Regions from separate parts of the Homo sapiens genome. Here all the other regions are linked to region 3. Evidence: promoter capture Hi-C in 16 types of primary human blood cells and fetal thymus (Javierre and others, 2016). All regions are on one chromosome and are shown on one strand. The core of a region is centred on a gene start or on the middle of the fragment in contact, and the rest is flanking DNA. Distances in the headings are between cores, read along the strand shown. Region 1 holds the start of ZSCAN10 (zinc finger and SCAN domain containing 10). Region 2 holds the start of CLDN6 (claudin 6). Region 3 overlaps CLUAP1 (clusterin associated protein 1). Region 4 holds the start of ZNF200 (zinc finger protein 200).

What was found. The method cuts DNA at HindIII sites, captures the fragments that hold promoters and counts their contacts. A CHiCAGO score of 5 or more calls a contact.
Region 1: a contact is called between the fragment with the promoter of ZSCAN10 here and a fragment that was not itself captured in region 3, in 3 of 17 cell types (naive CD4 T cells, non-activated CD4 T cells and total CD8 T cells). The highest score is 7.1, in naive CD4 T cells.
Region 2: a contact is called between the fragment with the promoter of CLDN6 here and a fragment that was not itself captured in region 3, in 1 of 17 cell types (total CD8 T cells). The highest score is 6.3, in total CD8 T cells.
Region 4: the fragment with the promoter of ZNF200 here is called in contact with a fragment that was not itself captured in region 3 in 13 of 17 cell types (naive CD4 T cells, total CD4 T cells, naive CD8 T cells and 10 more); the score reaches 10.0 in naive CD4 T cells.

Annotation. Positions count from the first base shown.
Region 1 is chr16:3,097,735-3,100,646 of GRCh38, reverse strand. ZSCAN10 (zinc finger and SCAN domain containing 10) reads left to right here and starts at 1,353. Exons shown (of 6, transcript NM_032805.3): 1 at 1,353-1,457. RefSeq lists a silencer at 331-390 and an enhancer at 551-600. The HindIII fragment of the contact is 16,276 bases long and covers 1-2,342 here.
Region 2 is chr16:3,016,664-3,019,944 of GRCh38, reverse strand. CLDN6 (claudin 6) reads left to right here and starts at 1,762. Exons shown (of 2, transcript NM_021195.5): 1 at 1,762-1,796. RefSeq lists enhancers at 568-1,163, 1,761-2,357, 2,358-2,954. The HindIII fragment of the contact is 3,533 bases long and covers 1-2,821 here.
Region 3 is chr16:3,507,841-3,511,060 of GRCh38, reverse strand. CLUAP1 (clusterin associated protein 1) reads right to left here. Exons shown (of 12, transcript NM_015041.3): 4 at 2,593-2,772. Among named protein-coding and RNA genes, the nearest start is that of CLUAP1, 8.4 kb to the right of the region's middle. RefSeq lists an enhancer at 1,087-1,146. The HindIII fragment of the contact is 1,091 bases long and covers 1,316-2,406 here.
Region 4 is chr16:3,233,829-3,237,198 of GRCh38, reverse strand. ZNF200 (zinc finger protein 200) reads left to right here and starts at 2,041. Exons shown (of 5, transcript NM_198088.3): 1 at 2,041-2,212; 2 at 3,363-3,370. RefSeq lists enhancers at 1,723-1,932, 1,943-2,002. The HindIII fragment of the contact is 8,399 bases long and covers 1-3,370 here.

The sequences.
Region 1 (2,912 bases), core at 104-2,603, 410 kb after region 3:
GAGATGGGGTTTCACCATGTTGTCCAGGCTAGTCTTGAACTCCTGACCTCAGGTGATTAAAGAGGCTGAGTGCGGTGGCTCATGCCTGTAATCCCAGCACTTTGGGAGGCCAAGGCAGGTGGATCACCTGAGTTCAGGAGTTCAAGACTAGCCTGGCCAAAATGATGAAACCCCATCTCTACAAAAAAAAAAAAAAAAAAAAAAATGAACCGGGCATGATGAGACAGGCCCCACGCCTCTCGCTTCCGAGACTGTAATGGCTGCCTGGTCCCGCCAAGGCCACACCCGCTCCGGCGCTACAGCACCCCGCCCCGCCCCGGACACGCCCCCTCCGTCCCTACAGAACCCCGCCCCGCCCCTTGGCCTTCAGGCCCACTTCCCTGGGGGCGGGGTTTTCTGGCCCCGCCCCTGAACAAACTATGGAGTGGGAGGAGCCCGCGACTGGGAGAGCGAGGCGCGGGACGCGGGGAATGCAGAGCAGACCAAGGAGAAAGACCGTCGTACGAAGGGAGCACTAGACAACTGAAGTAGGAACAGGATGAGCTCAGGTGTTAAGTGCAGGAAAACAAAGACCCGTCAGATGAGCCAGTCAGGAGGGTCCTGGCCCCAACGGACCGAGGGGTCTAGGCCGGGGGAACGGCCAACACCTGAGAGGTGGTCCTGGCTCCCCGGGGGCTCAGAACGCTCAGGAAGGCACCAGCTGCAGCCAAGGGCACAACCCAAGAAGGCACCTTAAGCACAGGGATGGAATTAGTTTGGGGCCAAACGCTGTTGGTTAGGTCACTTCCCTCCCGGGGAGCCCTTGCTTCGTCATCGGTAAAGTTGGGACAAAAGCCACCTGGCAGGACTTGGGAGGACTTTAGGTGACCGTGTAGATGGAGCAAACTCTGCCCCATCACATCCTCCTCTTCCATTTTTTCCTAGCACCGTCGCTGCTCCTTTGCCCTAGAATGTAAGCCCCTGAGAGCAGGGCCTCATTCCTTCAGTTTCTCTCTGTGTCCTTAGCCCCTGCTTTGTAACAGTGCCTGGCACACAGGAGGCCATTGCAAAGAGTAGTCACGTGAATGAAAAGCCTAGCAAAGAAGCCAGCACACTGTGGGCATTTAAAAATGGCAGCTCTTAGCCCAAAGGAAAGACGGGCAGACCTGCAAGGGGCACCAGGCCAGTCTTGATTTGGGAGGTGGTTACACTCTCACACAGGCTGGGATTGAAATCTGGATTTCTCACTTTGTCTTCATGTCACTGGCCCCGCCCTCTTCCCATCCCGCTCCCAAACTGGGAGCTTAAGGGTTAACTCTAGGAAGCCCCTCATCACCTGGATGGGATGGGACTGGGGCAAGGAACTTCCTGTTCCATTTTCCCAGAGCCCTTCCCCAGGCTGGCGGAGGCTGGCTTTGGCCCTGGAGTCCTCAGAAAACCCCCCAGCATCTCTGCCTGTGTAGTGGGGACTCCGAGTGGTGAGTTGGAGGGAGGTCGGGGTGCAGGCTGCCAGGACGGGTGCTAGGAGCTCGCAGCAGCTTGGAGAGAGCAGGGGAGGCTCCAGGCCTTGGTGCTGGGGTGGGGGCTGGAAGAGTCTTGGGAGGATGTAGAGGGTCTGCTGGGGAGCCTCGTGCCAGCCAGCTTGGTGGACCTGTCGCGATGGGGGCGTTGGGGACGAGGGAGATCGCAGAACTTCCTGTGACATTGAAGAAGGCTGGCTTCACGTGCTCCCAGGTGGACTGATGGGCCTTGTCCACTCAGCCCAGCACGCGGAGGGAGGCCCCTCCAACAAACAACAAATCAGGCAGCTGCCAACTGTGTCCAGGGAGAAAGGGAGTGTTCCCGGCTGAGGACCCCACCTTTGCCGCCTTCCCCAACTCTGGGCTCTCAGGTGACCTGGGTGGGTCTCGTGGCAGCACCTCCACCCCGGGCTCCAAATTAAGCTGCTCAAATGTTGGATGGTGGCTGTAGAGCCTCTGCCTGCCTCCCTACCCAGCCCACCCCCAACAGAGGTGCATATTAACAGAGCTTTTGTCCTGGAGATCTGGGGGGAGGGAGAGATTCTCTGAAGCCAACTTGTCTCGAATTCCACCTCTTTGAAACCTTTTGGAGAGATCTCACCTGGAGATTCCGGCCTCCCTGTGTGGCTTGCCCTGAGAGCTGAAATTTGGAATCTTCATTTTTTTTCTGTTTCATGCTGTGATATTTCGGCTAAGGCTAGGAAAATGGCACAGAGCAGGATGGAGATCAGTTCCTTTTCTGTTTCAGAGCTTTGGCACTGTGTTCTAGACCTACACTCTCAGCCTAAAGCAAACCTTGGCTCCACCTGGTGTGACCCTGAGCATGTCACCAAGTGCAAAGCTTGGTCTTTGCACTTGGCAAAGGGAGAAGTGATTGTTTCGTGCGTGGGCTGGACTGGGATGAAATGAGCTTAATCGCCAGACACTCAGTACCTGCCCGCTGCTCCTGCACGGCAATGGATGAGCAGTGATTAGTTTTCTTGTTATTTTGTGCATGCTACTAAAAACCAGTGAAACGTAATCCCATTTTCTTCCCCCTCCCCCACTCTTTTTTTTTCTTTTCTTTTCTTTTCTTTCTTTCTTTCTTTTTTTTTTTTTTTTTTTTGAGACAGGGTCTTCGCCTTTTATCCAGGCTGGTGTGCAGTGGCGCGAACATGGCTCACTGCAGCTTTGACCCCCCAGGTTCAAGCAATCCTTCTGCCTTGGCCACCCAAAATGCTGGGATTATAAGCATGAGCCACCGCATCCGGCCTCACAACACCATTTTTCTGATCATTTATCACAGACTTTTTCTGTCCTAGACGTTGTTACATGCTTTCCTTCGAGATGGCCAGAATCACTGCCATTCCCTAATTTCTGCTAACAGACACTGAAGCAACTTCAAGTGCTGGATGAACACTCATTGAACTAGAC
Region 2 (3,281 bases), core at 513-3,012, 490 kb after region 3:
ATACAAAAATTAGCCGGGCGTGGTGGCGCGCGCCTGCAATCCGAGCTACTCAGGAGGCTGAGGCAGGAGAATCTCTTGAACCCGGGAGGCAGAAGTTGCAGTGAGCCGAGATCGCGCCACTACACTCCAGCCTGGGCGACAGAGTGAGAGTCCGTCTCAAATAAATAAATAAATAAATAAATAAATAAATAAACAAACAAACAAACAATAAAAAGAAATCAGACACACGACCAATCCATGCAGAGATCACTGCAGCTTCCTTCCCCCCACCTCCCCTTGAGATTGCGTCTCACTCTTGCTCAGCCTGGAGTGCAGTGGTACGATCACGGCTCTCTGGGCTCAGGTGAGCCTCCCACCTCAGCCTCCCAAGTAGCTGGGACCACAGGCCCTGCCCCACCACGTCCGGCTAATTTTTGTATTTTTTGTAGAGACCAGGGTCTTACTATGTTGCCCAGGTTAGCCTGGCCACTACAGCTTTGTTAAGGGCCCGGGGGGTATAACAATTAAACCTGAGGTCAGGAGCTCGAGACCAGCCTGGCCAACTTGGTGAACCCCCGTCTTTACTAAAAATAAAAAAAAGAAAGAAGTTAGCCGGGCGTGGTAGTGGGCGCCTGTAATCTCAGCTACTCGGGAGACTGAGGCAGGAGAATTTCTGGAACCTGGGAGACGGAGGTTGCAGTCAGTCGAGATAGCGCCATTGCACTCCAGACTGGGCGACAGAGAGGGCCTCCATCTCAAAAAACAAAACAGGCCGGGCGCGGTGGCTCACGCCTGTAATCCCAGCACATTGGGAGGCCGAGGCGGGCAGATCACGAGGTCAGGAAATCGAGGCCATCCTGGCTAACACGGTGAAACCCCGTCTCTACTAAAAATACAAAAAAATTAGTCGGGGGTGGTGGCGGGCACCTGTAGTAGTCCCAGCTACTCTGGAGGCTGAGGCAGGTGAATGGCGTGAACCCGGAAGGCAGAGCTTGCAGTGAGCCAAGATCGCGCCACCACACTCCAGCCTTGGCGAGAGAGCGAGACTCCATCTCAAAAACAAACAACAACAACAACAAAAAACCAGCAACATAAAAATAATATTATCTGGCCGGGCGCGGTGGCTTAAGCCGGTAATCCCAGCGCAGTGCGAGGCCAAGGCGGGCGGATCGCTTGAGTCCGGGAGTTCGAGACGCCTGGGCAATATAACAAGACCCTGTCTATACAAAACAAAACATAAATTAGCTGGGCACGGTGGCGTGTGCTGCCTGTAGTCCCAGCTACTCAGGAGGCTGAGGCGGGAGGATCGCTTGAGCCCAGAAGGTCGAGACTGCAGTGAGCCGTGATCGCACCACTGCACTCCAGCCTGGGTGACACAGTGAAAATATTTCTCTAAAATAATACCAATAGTATGCCCTTTAATTTGTACCTTAGGACGTAGTTACATAATAAAATGCAGACTTGTTATCTCCATTTTGCAGAGTAGGAAACGAAGGCTCGGGAAGGTTAGGTGAGTTCCCCATGTCACCGCGCTGCTTAAGTGGTGAAGCGGAGTCTCAAGCTCTGTTCTACCCTAAGCCTGGCGCCCTCACCCTGGGTGAGTCTGGACGTCTGCCAGCCCGAGGCGGGCCCAGCGACCCCAGCCTCCAGCGCCCCCCTCTGACAAGCCTGGGATTCGCACGCCCGCTGCCGTCAGGGACAGGGTCTCTGCCCCTCCTCCGGGGCGGTGGTCCAGTGACGTCACCGCTTCTTTAAGACCCCCGCCTCCGCCCCTGTCCCGACACTCGGCCTAGGAATTTCCCTTATCTCCTTCGCAGGTGAGTCCGGGGCTAGTGTGCGTGTTGGAGAGACGCCTCTTGGGGCCGGGTGCAGGGTGGTGGCGGCGTGGGTAGGGGTGCGTGCGAACTCGGGCTGCGGCCACCTGGATGGGCGAGTCCCTGAGGGGGTCGGCCGGTCCGCGCCCAAGCCTCCGAGGTGATAGGGTCCTTCGGGGCTCCCAAGGGTTAAACGCCCCTCCCCCCTCCCCAGGGACAAAGACTCCGAAACCCCTGGCGCCCCTCCCCCACCTGCCTTGCCTCTCGGGGCGGGGCGCCCCTCCCCCCTCCCCCTCACCTGGGGGAGCGGACCTTGCGGCCACTGCAGCTATAGAACCCCTCCAGGGCGCGCGGCTCCCAGGCTGGGGTGGTCGGGTGGGCCGGGGCGCCCTCGGACAGAGTCTTTTTCATGCAGTGCATGAAAAAGAAAGGGGCAGGGGCACACTCAGAGGGGAGAGGCCTGGGCGCCTATACCAGCGCGGCCCCGACCCTAACTCGGCCAGAGGCCTAAGGGCCGGACCTGAGCGCTGGGGCACCGTGCCCCAGCCAGTCTCCCCAAGGTGGTCTGCTCCGCCCAGGCCTGGGGCCCCCGGCTAATGAGTAGAGCCTGCCCTCCGACCGCTGCCGGCCGGGAAAAGTTTAGGTCCAAGCCGTACAATGAAAGTACTCTGGGCAGTGGGAGGCCACAGCCCGGCCCTAGTCAGAAGTGATTCCCTCCACGACCTCCAACACTGAGGGGACACAGGTGCAGGCCAGGTGGCGGTGGGAGAACTGGTGTTGAGGGGAGTCTAGCACGGCATTTTCGTCTAGAATTCATAGGAAAAGGCCCTCAGCCTTGAGGCTATGCTCTCCGGCGCCTAGGGCAGGTCAGAAGGGTGGGGCCAGGGAGTTATCCACTGGCTTTGGGGGAGGAACTGCTTTTAGATGGGGGATTAATGATGCTTTTCTTCATCTCTCCTGGTCCTGGTGTCTGCCAGCCTGGGGTGTGGAACCAAGTTGTGAGGGACATTGGGTGGTGGGAGGAAGCTTAGGATCTCCAATCTTAGTGTTGAAATTAACAAGTTTTGGTTGGGCACGGTGGCTCACACCTGTAATCCCAGCACTTTGGGAGGCTTGAGGCGGGCAGATCACCTGAGGTCAGGAGTTCGAGACCCGCCTGGCCAACTTGATGAAACCCTGTTTCTACTAAAAATACAAAAATTAAGACCAGGTGTGGTGGCTCATGCCTGTAATCCCAGCACTCTGGGAGGCTGAGGCGGGAGGATCACGAAGTCAGGAGATCGAGACCATCCTGGCTAACACAGTGAAACCCCGTCTCTACTAAAAATACAAAAAAATTAGCCGGGCGTGGTGGTGAGCGCCTGTAGTCCCAGCTACTCGGGAGGCTGAGGCAGGAGAATGGCGTGAACCGGGGAGGCAGAACTTGCAGTGAGCCGAGATCCCGCCACTGCACTCCAGGCTGGGCGACAGAGCGAGACTCCGTCTTAA
Region 3 (3,220 bases), core at 612-3,111:
CCTTCTCTGCTTCTCAAAAGTGGAGCGAGTCAGAGTTTCATTCCTGGACCCCCCGTCTTTTCTGCTGGCTCTGCTCCTACCCTCAAGGCTTTAATACCATCTGTGTGCTGATTGCTCCCCAGCTCCCAGCTCCAGCCTGGGCTTTCCCTGGGCTCTAGTTTCACATACCAGCTACCTGTGCACCATCTCCACCTGGACAGCCAATCGGCGTGGCAAATGGAGCATGTGCAGAACCTTCTCTGCTTCAGTACATGGCAACTTCATCCTTCCAGGGGCTCACACAAAAAACTTCAGAGCAGTGATGTCTAATATAGTAACCAATAGCCACATGTGGCCATTTTCACTTAAATTACTTAAGAATTAAAGAAAATGCAGAACTCAACTCAGTTCCTCAGTTGTGCTTGCCACATGTGGCCAGTGGTTCCCGTAGAGTACAGCACAGAGGCGGAACACACCCATGAGCTCTGCAAGCTCTGCCGCACGGCTGCCCCAAGACCCGGCCTGTAGCACCTGACTTACTCTCAACCCATGCCTCATCCCGTGAGATCTACCATCAAAATATGCCCCAATCTCTAGACACTTCTCTTGCTGACGAGTGTCGCTCCTGGTTAAAAACCCACATGTGAGGACAGGCGCGGTGGCTCACGCCTATAATCCCAGCACTACGGGAGGCCGAGGCAGGCAGATCACCTGAGGTCAGGAGTTTGAGACTAGCTGGCCAACATGGTGAAACCCCATCTCTGCTAAAAAAAAAAAAAAAAATACAAAGCCGGGTGCGGTGGCTCACGCCTGTAATCCTAGCACTTTGGGAGGCTGAGGCGGGCAGATCACCTGAGGTCAGGAGTTCGAGACTAGCCTGACCAACATGGAGAAACCCTGACTCTACTACAAGTAAAAAATTAGCTGGGTGTGGTGGCGCATGCCTGTAATCTCAGCTACTCAGGAGGCTGAGGCAGAAGAATCACTTGAACCTGGGAGGCAGAGGTTGCAGTGAGCTGAGATTGTGCCATTGCACTCCAGCCTGGGCAACAAGAGTGAAACTCCATCTCAAAAAAAAAAAAAAAAAATTAGCTGGGCATGGTGGTGTGTACCTGTAATCCCAGCTACTTAGGAGGCTGAGGCAGAAGAATCTCTTGAACCTGGGAGGCAGAGGCGCAGCGAGCCAAGATCGTGCCATTGCACTCCAGCCTGGGCCACAGACTGAAACTCCGTCTCAAAACAAAACAAAAACAAAACAAAAAAGCTGTGTGTGGCTTTTCAAGCCCAACTATAGACCATGACAAGGCCTCACCTAGCAGGCCTCACAGGGGAAGCTTTCTTCCCTGCAGCAGACTTGGAGCTCAGCCAGTGCACTGTGGTTTCACGTACCCTGCGTGGCCACACTCTTAGGTGCACTCCCAGCCCCGGGGCCTTCATTCCTAGGTCTCCTGCTCTGAGGCCTTGGGCCTCAGAGTAACGGCTTAACCTTTATTTCTGGCTTGCTGCTGTGGTCGCTCCCTGACACCTGACGGCACCTGTCCCACCAGCACTCTGCTCAAAGCCACGGTCACCCCTCACTCTCCAAACAGGCTCGCTGCTTCCAGCCCTGCCGCCTGCTTCGGTCTGATGGCGGCTCAGCAGCCAGAGCAACCCTTTGGACGGGAAATAAGCACAGAAGGTTCCGCTTGGATCCCAACGATTCCCACCTTAGAGGCAAAGACAAAGGCTTTCCAGGGGCTTCCCAGGCGCCAGAGGGTCTGTCAATCCCAACCCTCATCACACGGCCTCCTTGCTTTTCCTCAAACACACAAAACACATTTTTTTTCTTCCCCCCAGACAAGGTCTCGTTCTGTTGCCTAGGCGGGAGCGCAGTGCCATGAACATGGCTTGACTGCCTGGGCTCAAGAGATCTTCCCACCTCAGCCTCCTGGGCAGCTGGGACCACAGGTGTGTACCACCACGCCTAGCTAATTTTTTTCTTTTTTTTGGTAAAAATGGCGTCTCACTATGTTGCCCAGGTTGGTCTGGAACTCTTGGCATCAAAGGATCCTCCCACCTCGGCCTCCCAAAGTGTTTGGCTTACAGGAGTGAGTCACTGCACCCAGCCCAAAACAAATTATCATCCTGAGACACCCTGACGCCACCCGCCACCCGCACAACTCACTCTTTCCCTCCCTTGGATCTCTGCTGGAAACACCATCCAATCCATGAGGCCTTCCTGATCACCCGATTTAAGATCACTCTGGGCAGCATCCATCCCCATCCCAGCTTATTATTCTCCACAGCCTGCACTGCATCTGGCCTTCCACACCTCTTATTGTTCACAGTCTGACTCCCCTAACTGAAGAGAATAAACACACGATTTTTGTCCTTTTTGTTCACAACTGTATCCTCAGCGCTTGAATGCTACCTGACAAATACTAAGCTTTTAATAAATAGTTGAATTAGTGGATTGTGACTTTGACTTTATCCAAATGCTGATGAGCACAAAACTGACAAACTGCCCTCAGCTGAGGAGGAAGAAAAGCAGCGGAGCTGTAGCAGACTCCTTCCACTTCAGAGCTCAAGAAATCAACGCTCCATCGCCCACTACAAGGCTTTTGTTGTCCTTACCTTTGAGCCAAGATCAAACTTGAACTTGTTGACATCTTCCTCTACTATTTCAGAGCCCTCCATCCCCTTGGTCTTCATAGCATTATAAAGGACAGATGTGATCTTCAGCAGCTCTTTTACCGCATACCCATCTGCTTGATAAAGCTTCTTAGTGTTGAGTTTTATATGTGCCTTGGTGGCCTATTTTTAGACCAAAAAAAAAAAAAGTTGAAGGCCCTTTCCATGTAATGTCTAAACTAAATCCCATGTAGGTGAGTTGAAAATGCCTCTGCTGACAACTGGGATATAACCTAATAAAAGCAAAGCATTCAAGTGACTCAAACATTGTGAGTGGTTGTATAAACTGGGACAATCTTGATGGAGAGCAATTTGGTAAAAGACATCAAAATTACAAATGCACATATCTTTTGACCCAGCAATCCCAAATCTAAGAACTTATTCTAGGGACACACTCAAACACAAACAAAATGAGATGTACAGGTTATTTGTTACAGCACTGTTCCAAAGAGCAAAGCTTCAGACAACCTAAAAGCCTACCTATATAAATTACATAAATTATGGCAAATCCATGCAAGCAATACCACTCAGGCGTAAACAGAATGAGGAAATTCTATATGTATTTGGAAAG
Region 4 (3,370 bases), core at 792-3,291, 270 kb after region 3:
ATGTAATATTTTATGGCCATCCCTCCAGGTGTACATATAGTTCCAATCCATTCTTTTTCATAGCTGGGTAATTTCCAGAGTATGAATGCACCAATTTACTCCTTTCCTTACGTATGAACATGCATGTCATTTCTAGTTTTTGTCACTACAAAGAATTCTACAAGAAATTTGTAGACATCAGATTCACAGATGAGATTGTGAAGGTCAAAGGGTACATACTTGTACTTTTAATTTTAATATATATTACAAGATGACTTCACACACCACACTACCAGCGAAAGGAGTGCCTATTTCTCCACCTTCATTGTTTGATAGGTGAAAAATGTGGTTCCCTTTAAAAGTGATAATCTTGACTAGTAGTGTGGTTAAGCATCTTTTTAAATGTTAATGACCAATTAGTTTTCCTCCTCTCGGGAAGAGCTCCTCATTGCCTTTGCTTTTTGTCAGTTGGCAGGGGTTCATTTTGTCTTAGGAATGTATAATCTTTTGTGTAGCTAATCTTTACAATTATCTTCCAGTCTATTTCTTGTTTGTTAACAGAGTCAAGAAAAAGTTCTTAAAAAATACAATCACACAGGTTTATATTTTACTTCAAGACATCTCAGTTATCTGTTTTGCCTCATAATTCAAACCATAATGCTTTGATTAACGGAGGCTTTTTAGTAAATTTTGATCTGAAAAGGCAGATATTCCTTATTTTTCTAGAATGTCTTGGTGCCACACAGTTTTCATACTCGTTTCTTTGTAACATATTTTAAGCCATCGTCAGCCATTAGTCAGGTATAATTAACTTTAAGAAGAGGCATTCATTTATATTTTTACTTTTGTCAACTTTCTGGAGGCTGGTATTACATCGAGAAATAAGGCCATCCCTGCCCACAAGTTGTCCGAACCCTGATCAGTGCGTCACTGGGGAACGAACCGAGTGTGGATACAACGCACAAACACAAAACTCTGTTCGGCCTCCGTAGGAAGCTGAAATTGAGAAAGGAAACCGAGACAGTAGGAGAAGGGCAATTAAGATGTCTTTAAAAACAAGACGGCCGGTGCGGACAGCAGTGTAGAAGTTAGCAAGCTGGAGTGGGCAATGTCGGTGCCCCATCTCTAACCTATGGGAGTCACCAGAGCGGGGGCGGAGTCCCATGGCGGCCACACCCTGTCCGCCTCCGCAGTCTTTTTACTGGAGAACCGCAGTAAAAGGCGGAAACCGCGGAGGCGTCTTGATTTTCCGGTCGGAGAGATAGCTTGCTTCCTTTAAGCCTCGGGGTAGGGGGGTGGGGAGGGTAGGGGGGTGGGGAGGGTAGGGGGGTGGGGAGGGTAGGGGGGTGGGGGGGTGGGGAGGGTAGGGGGTGGGGGGGTGGGGAGAGTAGGGGGGTGGGGAGAGTAGGGGGGTGGGGAGAGTAGGGGGTGGGGGGGTGGGGAGAGTAGGGGGGTGGGGAGAGTAGGGGGTGGGGAGAGTAGGGGGGTGGGGAGAGTAGGGGGGTGGGGAGAGTAGGGGGGTGGGGGTTGGGGGGTGGCGCCGTGGGGGGTGGCGGGGTGGGGGGTGGGGGGTGGGGAGAGTAGGGGGGTGGGGGGTGGGGAGAGTAGGGCGGTGGGGGAGTGGCGGGGTAGGGGGGTGGCGGGGTGGGGGGTGGGGGGAGCGCGGGCGCTGGGTGGGCGGGGGGTGGGGCGGTGGGGGGGCCTGCCCCGCCCCAACCGCCGCGCCTGACGGTCGTCCATTGGTTGTTTGCATTCGAACTACATTTCCCAGCAGGCCCTGGGGTTAGACTGGCCGCAGCTGGAGAGGTGCCAGCCCGTCGTGGATGACTAGAGCCAACCACCTGCCTTCCGTCTTCCAGGCAGAACCACAGAGAGGCTACAGCCGTCCTGGCCTCCCTCCGGCCCTGAGAGCTCCTCTGGCCTGTCTCAAGTCTTAACGTCTCAAGCGCAGACTGCCGGCTCCGAACGGGGAGACCAGGCTTCTGCACCGGAAACAAGGCACCGGTTGTGACGTCACAGCCGCAGAGCGCCCGACTTCCCAGAAGGCACCGAGTCCCTGCCGTTCTCCTCAACTGGCGGCGGCGCGAACGAATAGTCGCCGGCGACCTGTGAGGGCACTCGGAAGGGCGAGGGGAGGGCTCGACCGCTCGCGCCTAGTTTTTCTATCTCTCCCGGAGCCTGAGTCTCTGAGCCGTCCCCAGCAAACGCTCAGGGGCTGCAGAGGCCCCGAGAGGTGAGGGGCTCCGTGAGGGCGGGAACCAGGCTGAGGCCGCCTCTGGGGAGCGGAGCGTGTCCGTTGCTGAGGGAGCAAGGCCGGGTAGGGAGCCTGGTGAGCGCCTCAGGCAGGGGCGCACGCTGAGCTTTACGGTAAAGGTGTTCCTTGACCAGCGGAAGAGGCCCCAGAGTGAGCCTGGCCCGGCGGTCCTTAGTGGGATGTCGCCTGCCGCTCTCAGCAGAGCTTTGACGGCGGAGAGGAGTCGGCAGGCGGTGTGTGGACACCTCCTCGGCCTTGCATCTGCTCCCCGGGAGAGTCACCAACCGCCTCCCCGCCCAAAGGGCACCGGAGGGAGCTTCGGTTCGAGGGGTACAGTATGGCCAGATTCAGTGACCAACCTGCTTTTAGGCAGATGTCCTCGGTATTGACCCCAGATTTCCTGTCTTCTAGCCCATTGCTCTTTCTCCAAGCCTGATTTAACCTATTCCTGGTGGGTTTTACACACCGTCTTTCTTTCTGTCTTTTCTTTCTTTTTCCTTTTATTTTCTTTCTCTTCCCTGATTCCCTTCCTCCTTCTTTCCTTTCTCTTTTCCTTTCTTTTTTTAGAGTCAGGGTCTTGCTTTGTCGCTCAGACTGCAGTGCAGTGGCGCGATCACAGTTCACTGCAGCCTCGACCTCCTGGGCACAAGCAATCCTCCCAGCTCCCCAGTAGCTGGGACCACAGGCTTGTGTCGCCACGCCCAGCTAATTTTTTTTTTTTTTATGGAGTCGGTGTCTTGCTGTGTTGCCCAGGCTGGTCTTGAACTCCTGGACTCAAGCGATCCACCCGCCAGGGCCTTCCAAAGTGCTGGGATTACAGGTGTGAGCCACCGGTACCTGGCCACACTTTGTATTTCTCAGGAGGCTGGACCTTGGCCTTCTCCGCTCCACCCTTACTCCCTTCCCTTTGGACTTGAGGTTTGCACAGTCTCTGTTTTTCATTCTCAGGATCTTCCTTTCACATCTTCCTAAGCATATCTTGTTCAAATACTGCGTTTCAGTTATGATTTCCCTATCCCAGCTGTCGTTTTCTTTAGATCTCATGTAGCCTCACCAGCCATGCCACATATTGGAGTGCAGTAATGCCGTGCCTGGTCTTTTGGGTAATCCCTGGTTTCTCTGTCTACAGCTTGGCTC